Linked DNA regions of Homo sapiens: region 1 is linked to region 2. The links are contacts of gene promoters, found by promoter capture Hi-C in human tissues and cell types (Jung and others, 2019). All regions are on one chromosome and are shown on one strand. The core of a region is centred on a gene start or on the middle of the fragment in contact, and the rest is flanking DNA. Distances in the headings are between cores, read along the strand shown.

The links. The method cuts DNA at HindIII sites, captures the fragments that hold promoters and counts their contacts. A contact is called where the count stands out against the background at its distance.
Region 1: a contact is called between a fragment that was not itself captured here and the fragment with the promoter of CAMK2G in region 2, in 3 of the 25 tissues and cell types used here (adrenal gland, lymphoblastoid cells and mesenchymal stem cells).

The regions. Positions count from the first base shown.
Region 1 is chr10:74,204,779-74,208,594 of GRCh38, reverse strand. All of the region lies in intron 2 of ADK (adenosine kinase), which reads right to left. Among named protein-coding and RNA genes, the nearest start is that of ADK, 55 kb to the right of the region's middle. RefSeq lists enhancers at 1,054-1,584, 1,585-2,117. The HindIII fragment of the contact is 5,622 bases long and covers 1-3,816 here.
Region 2 is chr10:73,872,802-73,876,454 of GRCh38, reverse strand. It overlaps CAMK2G (calcium/calmodulin dependent protein kinase II gamma), which reads left to right and starts at 1,900. Exons shown (of 23, transcript NM_001367534.1): 1 at 1,900-2,058; 2 at 3,372-3,466. The coding sequence starts at 1,994. RefSeq lists an enhancer at 1,178-1,287 and silencers at 1,508-1,787, 1,798-1,957, 2,018-2,187, 2,448-2,507. The HindIII fragment of the contact is 10,637 bases long and covers 1-3,653 here.

The DNA of each region.
Region 1 (3,816 bases), core at 31-2,530, 330 kb before region 2:
CAATAGAGAAGACTCTTTTATTGTTAGGGTCCAAAGACTTGTTTTTTATCTTCAAGTACTTATTTGAAAATCAAAGTTAAAGATTAAAACCTTCCAAATATAAAATAGAACTTCAGCTAGCCACTTAGGACCAGCTGCTAGTAAAACATGTAAAACAAAGAAGTTACTCGAGCTCCCAGCAGCGTCATTGATGGCAGCAGCAGGCTGTCTAGAGCAGCTGCTGCAAAGACACTGGCTACAATTGGGGAGATGCAGCCAGGGCTGCATGCTCCACAGAGCCCATGGGAGCTGGGAACAGGTGGGAGCCACACCCACTTCCAAGTTGGCAGGGCTGGAGCCCCACCCTCCTGAGTGCAGCTGCAGCCACCCAGCCATGGCTGTGGACCCAGGTATCCCTGCACTCTCTGGGGCCCGGGAAGTCCCCCTTTCCCCTGCAGACTCAGAAGTGCCTGTTCCCATGCCTGGCCTCTCCTCGATCCCAGCACCTGCTCCAGGGTGGAGCAAAGTCGTGGCCAAGCCCAGGCACTGTCACAACCCAGCAGGTGTGCATGTGCTCGGGGCAGCACTGACATACCAGCCCCCTGCCCCCTCAGCCCCCTCTGGACTTTAGGTGCAGAGAAGCATGGGAAGGAGGCCAAGGTGGGACTGAGGGCAGCTCAATGGGGCCAGCAAGTACCCTCATCACCAACAGCCTGCACACTGTGGACAACATGATTGATGGCAGCAGGAGGCAGACACTCTCCTGGGAAAAAAGGGGTGGGTTCAGGTGAAGCCCTGCCTTCAAGCCAGGGACAGCCTGAAGCATGGGGGCCAGGCTATCAGTTCCAGGTGGGGTCCACTGAGGGGAGTGAGACTCATGGTGCTTTTTCCAGACCCACCCATAGCCGCCCATGGACCAATCAGCACACACTTCTCCCTTGTGAAGCCCATTAAAAACCCTGGACTCAGCCAGACTTACAGAAGAGACCTGGGACTACCAACTGTGGAAAGGAGTTACCCCCTCGGGGTCTCATCTCACTGAGAGGTGAACACTTGTCAGGACGACCTGCCTGCAGAAAGGAGCTACCCACTTCGGGTCTCCTGAGAGCTGTTCTGTTGCTCAATGAAGCTCCTCTCCACCTTGCTCACCCTCCAGTTGTCCCCATACCTCACTGTTCATGGATGCAGGATAAGAAGACCCACCAAGTGGCAGGACTGAAACAGCTGTAACACAAACAGAGCTAAAATATGCCTCACCCCACTCAGCACCTTGCAGGCAACAAGAAGGAAAGAAGAGCTGCAGCCCTTCTGAGAGCCCAGACCTAGGGGGTTCCCAATCCAGGGCTGTGACACTCTCTTTGGGGCTCTGTGGTTTCTGGTGTCTCCAAGCTTCTGGGCACCACCATATTATCCTCGTCCAGACGTGGGTTCCTACAGTGGAAGCCACTTGAGATGCATCAGATCCAGCCGCAAGCTTGCATGAAGCCAGCACCTGTGCCAGTGCCTGGAGATGCCCACCCCACCACAGCAGCCAGCATGAGTGGCTGTACACAGTGGCCAGATCCCATATTCGCTTGCTCACACACTCTTTGCCACGCCACTCTGCACCTGGCTCGCCCTTGGCAGGTGTGGGATCCAGGCTGGTAGCATGAGCCGAACGCAGCCTGCCAGGCCAAACAAGCAGAACAAGCCTGGCAGGCACAAGCAAACCTCAGGCAAAGGCTCCACCAACCACAGTGGCTTCTGGCTGGAAAAGCGACACCCTAAGGATCCTGTGACATCATCACACAGCTGCCAAGTCATAATCACTCTGATCACATTTGCCTGAAATTTTAAAAACAGTGATCCAAAAACATAATGTTGAGTGAAAAACAGCATACTAACAAAGACTACACATAGTATTAGCCCATAAACATTCATCTTCAGGTTATATATGCCTAACAAACATCTGGAGGCATGTTCACCAAAATAACAACACTGATTATATATGTGTGAAAGCTAATCATATAAATTGGGTCATTCTTGTCATATCTGACTAAAACAGGTGACAGGCTGGGGGGAAGAGCACTCAGCACACATAACATTGCTCCAAGAAGGTAATTCTCTGCAAGCCTGGCTGCTGAAACTGCCTGTTGTCATCTGAAAACAGTTTTATCCAGTAGCTACTGAAACAATGAGCTGTGACTCTAAAAGACTAGTTCTACTCACTGCAGTCACTCACCAATCAAAGCTTGCCACCTCCCCAAAACTAGTGCCAATGAGCTTTCTTTCAAAACAATACAAAACATTTCACCTTTTTATAAAACTTCCAATCTTATCTTTCTTCTTCAGACATAGCAAAGACCACCTGGTCTGTGTGTATATCCCAAATTTCAATTCTTGCTTCCCATATAAAATGTTCTACATTTATGGGTTTGTCTCTATACTTTATTTTACTTTTGAAATACACGATAAAATTTCAAATTTTTAAGTTGCTCTTTACTTTTATACATCATGATTTTTTTAAAATAGTGACCATGAATTAGTTGACTTCCTGAACAAAATATCTCACACTACACAAACAAAAGAGATCTAATTTTAAACCCATGAATTCATGTCCAACTGATTTTATTTTCTGTTTATTACAGCCTTTGATATATAACTGACATACAATAAACTGTAGACATTTAAAGTATACAATTTGATACGTTATATACCCATATAAGCATCACACTACCAGTTTTCCCCTAACGTAACCTTTATAGGGTTAAGAAAGTTATCGACATAGTTACCTAGGTTGCTTTAAGTTATTTTTTTTCATCAGGAATAGATATTAGATTTTGTCAAAAGGTTTTTCTTTGTCTATTGAGATAATTATATGGAGTTTTCTTAGACTGTTATGTTAGTTTCTTACTATAGTGAATTACTCTAATTACATTTCTTTTTTTTTTTTTTTTTTTTGAGACAGATTCTCAGGCTGTCACACTGGCTGGAGTGCAGTGGTGCAATCTCAGCTTACTGCAACCTCCGCCTCCCAGGTTCACCCGATTCTCCTGCCTCAGCCTCCCGAGTATCTGGGATTACAGGCACACACCACCATGCCCAGTTAATTTTTGTATTTTTAATAGAGACGGAATTTTGCCCTATTGGCCAGGCTGGTCTCAAACTCCTGACCTCAAGTGATCCATCCACCTCAGCCTCCCAAAGTGCTGGGATTACAGGCGTGAGCCACCACGCCCAGTCTTCTAATTACATTTCAAATGTTAACCTGCTCTACATTCCTGGTACACTACTTAATTCTGCAATAAATGATACACAGAGTGATAATGTGGGTAAGTCATTTTCAACTTTCATTATGAATTTGTATTCAAAGTTGGGAAAACAATTATAGATAGATAACAGAATGAAAACATCAACCTTAAAAACACAGTTAATAGAATAGAAAGATAGAAGAAGTAGCATAGGAAAGAATAGGGGCACCAGTAATCTCGTTCTCCATAATGAGAAGTCAATGGATTCCATTGAAATTTGGGTTTTTTTGTTTTGGTGTGGTTTGGCTTGGTTTAATTTTTTTTTTTTTTTTTTTTTTTTTTTTTGAGACAGAGTGTCAACTCTGTCACCCAGGTTGGAGTGCAATGGTGCAATTTCAGCTCACTGCAACCTCTGCCTCCCGGGTTCAAGCAATTCTCCTGCCTCAGCCACCCGAGTAACTGGGACTACAGGTGCGTGCCATCACACCTGGCTAATTTTTGGTATTTTTAGTAGACACAGGGTTTTGCCATGTTGGCATGACTTGAACTCCTGACCTCAAGTGATTCACCTGCCTCAGCCTCCAAAAGTGCTGGAATTACAGGCGTG
Region 2 (3,653 bases), core at 651-3,150:
CCTGGAGAGCTCTGCCCCACCCACCCCTCAGGGAGGCAGCTTGGGAGGCTGGGACACCTCTCAGCCCCCTCCTCTGGCAGAGCGAGCCTGCTGGCGAGGGAGACCCGACTCCCAGTGGGCGTCCTGCTGTAATCAAGACTGAGTGGCAGCCTCTGGCTGAGCTCCACCCTGCCCAGTTGGGGCTGGCCTCAGCCTCAGGGGACAGCTGCCCAGGCAGGTCAGGAACCTGCCCAGCCTGTTTGTCCCCCATCAAGACAGTTATGTGCCTCTGTCCCACCAACTTGTGATGGTGGGGACAGGAGAAGGGATGGTATCTCCCTCTGCCATCCCACAAATATTTACTGAGGGTCAGGGGCTGAGTGTACAATGGTGAACAAAAGGTGCAGAGGCCCCGCTTTATTGGAGCCTACAATTCAGCGGGAAGCTAGTTTTTGTATTTTTAGTAGAGACAGGATTTCACCATGTTGGCCAGGCTGGTCTCGAACTCCTGACCTCATGATCCACCCGCCTCAGCCTCCCAAAGTGCTGGGATTACAGGTATGAGCCACCACGCCCGGCCCAGCAAATGTAGTTCTAATTAGGCACCAAGTACTATTCTAAGTGCCTTAGACCATTTAATGCTGACAGGCCTATGAGGTAGGTAATATTATTGTTCCCAGCCGGGCGAGGTGGCTCATGAAGCCACCTCTGTACTACATACATACTTCATTACTTCATGTATGTACTACATACATACTTCATTACTACAACATAATGAAGCCCCGTCTGTACTAAAAATACAAAAAAATTAGCCGAGCGTGGTGGCGCGCGCCCATAATCCCAGCTACTCGGGAGGCTGAGGCAGGAGAATCGCTTGAACCCAGGAGGTGGAGGCTGCAGTGAGCCAAGATCGCACCACTGCACTCCAGCCCGGGCAACAGCGCAAGACTCCGTCTCAAAAAAAAGATTCAGTGACTTACCCCAGGTCACAGAGCTGATCAGTGAGTTGCCTAGAAATCCAATCCAGGCAGTTTGATGCAAGTTCACGCTTAGACAGCTATGAGATAGCTCTACTGCCCCTTATACCAGTCAATGCATCACTACAAAATGTGGTAGGTGCCAGAAAATAAAAGTACGAGGGTGCCTTGCAAGAAAATGGGGATTTCCCCTTTCTTCCACTTTCTCTTCTAGCCCCCACTGCACAAAGCCTTTTCAAGTCTTCCTACTTCACCCCTTTCATTTCTGGCCGGATAGAGAATACTCTTTCATCTCTGCAGTTATGGTGCAGGAAGGCAGAGTCCTACCTGTATCCTTGCCCCTGGCCTGGTCTCCCTGATCAACCCGCGCCTGAAGGGTTTCTTTCTAATAATGGCCCTGGTGCTTGCGCAAGTCTAGACTGTCAGCTCCCAGAGGGAAGGCGGCTGGCAGCTGGCTCTGCGCAGGCTGGGGGCGCCTCCCGGGCGTGCAGCCTGGCACAGGCTCCTTGACCTTGGCTCTCTCCCCACGTGCTAGGAGCCCGGTTGGGGGCTCGGGACCCGCGTGTAGGACCCGTCCAGAGAGGTCAGTGGTCCAGACTCCTACACTCCTAACACATGCACCCTCGCATGCACGTTCCCGAGCCCGCGCGGGGTCCGCCCCGGGACAAGCCCATAAGTCGCGAACCTTCCAGCTCCGTCTGCCCAGACAGGTGGCCCGGAGCGGGGACCCCCTCCCCTCGGCTGCCCCGCGCGCCTGGCCCAGCGAGGGCGGCTCCGGGGCGGGGCGGGGCCGGCGGCGGGAGGCCCCTCCCCGGGGGCGGGCCGGGGGCCGGGCGGGGGGGGGGACTGGCGGGGCCTGGGGGCGGGGCGGGGCGGGCGGCGCGGGGGTGTCCCTCCCTCCCTCGCTCTCCCCGGTAAAGTCTCGCGGTGCTGCCGGGCTCAGCCCCGTCTCCTCCTCTTGCTCCCTCGGCCGGGCGGCGGTGACTGTGCACCGACGTCGGCGCGGGCTGCACCGCCGCGTCCGCCCGCCCGCCAGCATGGCCACCACCGCCACCTGCACCCGTTTCACCGACGACTACCAGCTCTTCGAGGAGCTTGGCAAGTACGGCCCGCCCGCCGCGGTCCCCTGCCTGCCCTGCCGCCCGGGAGCTATGCGGCTTCTCGCCCCGCCCCCCGGCCCTGCACCGGCCGCTGCGGCTCCCCCTCGGCCGCCCCACCCCCGCCTTTCCCGCCCGCCGCCTTCGGTCCCCGCGCCCCCCGCGCACTGCCCCGCATCCCCCTCCGCGCCCTGCAGCAACTGGCGGGGCCGCTGCTCCCCACGCGCCGCCGCGGACACCGCAGACCCCGGACCGCTCCCGGGTGCCCTCCAGCCCCGCCCCTCCGCACCCTTCAGGCGCCCCCCTCCCGACCACCTCCCAACGCTGCCCGGTTGCTCACTCCGCACCCTGAACCCAGGTCCCACGCGCCTCGCACTCAGGACCCTCCCCAGCCCTGCAGCCCTAGCTCTGCTGCGGAGCCCGGGCGTGGGGGGGCTGTTTGGCGCCCGGCCCCGCCCCCCGCGGGTGCCGCTCCAGGCTCCCAGCCCCGCGGCTGGGCAGTGCTGCGGCACCCCCGTCCCCTCCCCCCACCCCTGCAGTGGTCCCGGGAGCCGCGCCGCAGCCTCAGCATCCCCCTCCCCTCCGCACTGAGCTGGCCGCTGCAGCAGCCCCGGCCCCCCACCCCCACCCGCGGCGCCGAGCCCGGCCACTGCAGCCCCCGCCCCGCCCGCCCCCCCAGACGTTTCCAGAGCTCAGAGTGCGAGCTCCCGTTTGACGGGGACGTCAAGGAAAATAGCATGGGAAGGGGAGTTCTTGATGTCTGACTGTGTCCTCTCTTCCCTTGCTGTCAGTTGAGCCGGGATGCAGTGAGATGAAACCGGCTGTGGGGGGGTTTGAGCCTCACTTTGCCCCATGGTTGAGGGAGATTTCTCTTTCAGGGGATGATACCCTCTTTTTAATCTTTCCTTCCCCGACCTTCAACTGTTCCTGCTGAGAGAAGGGCAGGGTCTCTCTGCTCCCTTCTGCCCTGGTTCTCTTGGCCGGGACCGCAGGGCTGTCTGAGATGCAGCAGGTGTGTGTTTTCAGCATCGCCCACCCGCTCCTGATGTGCAGCCTGAGGTGGAGGCTGTTGCCTTGCCCAGGGACTGGATGAGGGGGTGGGAGCGCGGCACGCCACCCACATCTGTTCAGTGTCCTGCGGTGGCCGCGTCCTTTTGCCTCATGTTGGATGGTGGTGGTCACAGCGCCGGTGTGTGTGCATGTACGTGAGTGTGACTAGAGGTCTGGTGGTGGGAGCATCATCGTCCCCAGACTTGAAGTGTGTCTGTGTCACTCTGCCCTGCTCCGTGTCCCAGTTCTTTTCCCCTTCTCCCTCCAGGGGTGCTTTCTCTGTGGTCCGCAGGTGTGTGAAGAAAACCTCCACGCAGGAGTACGCAGCAAAAATCATCAATACCAAGAAGTTGTCTGCCCGGGGTGAGTGTTCCCTGTCTTGACCTCTTCCTGAGGGTGCCTCCAGGGGCCATGGTTTCTTTTGAGGAAGCCCCAGGAATTGGGGGTTGTGCGTTTTAGCACTTGGAGAGGAGTTGGAATTTCAGACTGGTTGGACTTTGTGTCAGGCTGAAGCCAGAAAAGGAGTTGCATGGGGGACTGGAAGCGCCCA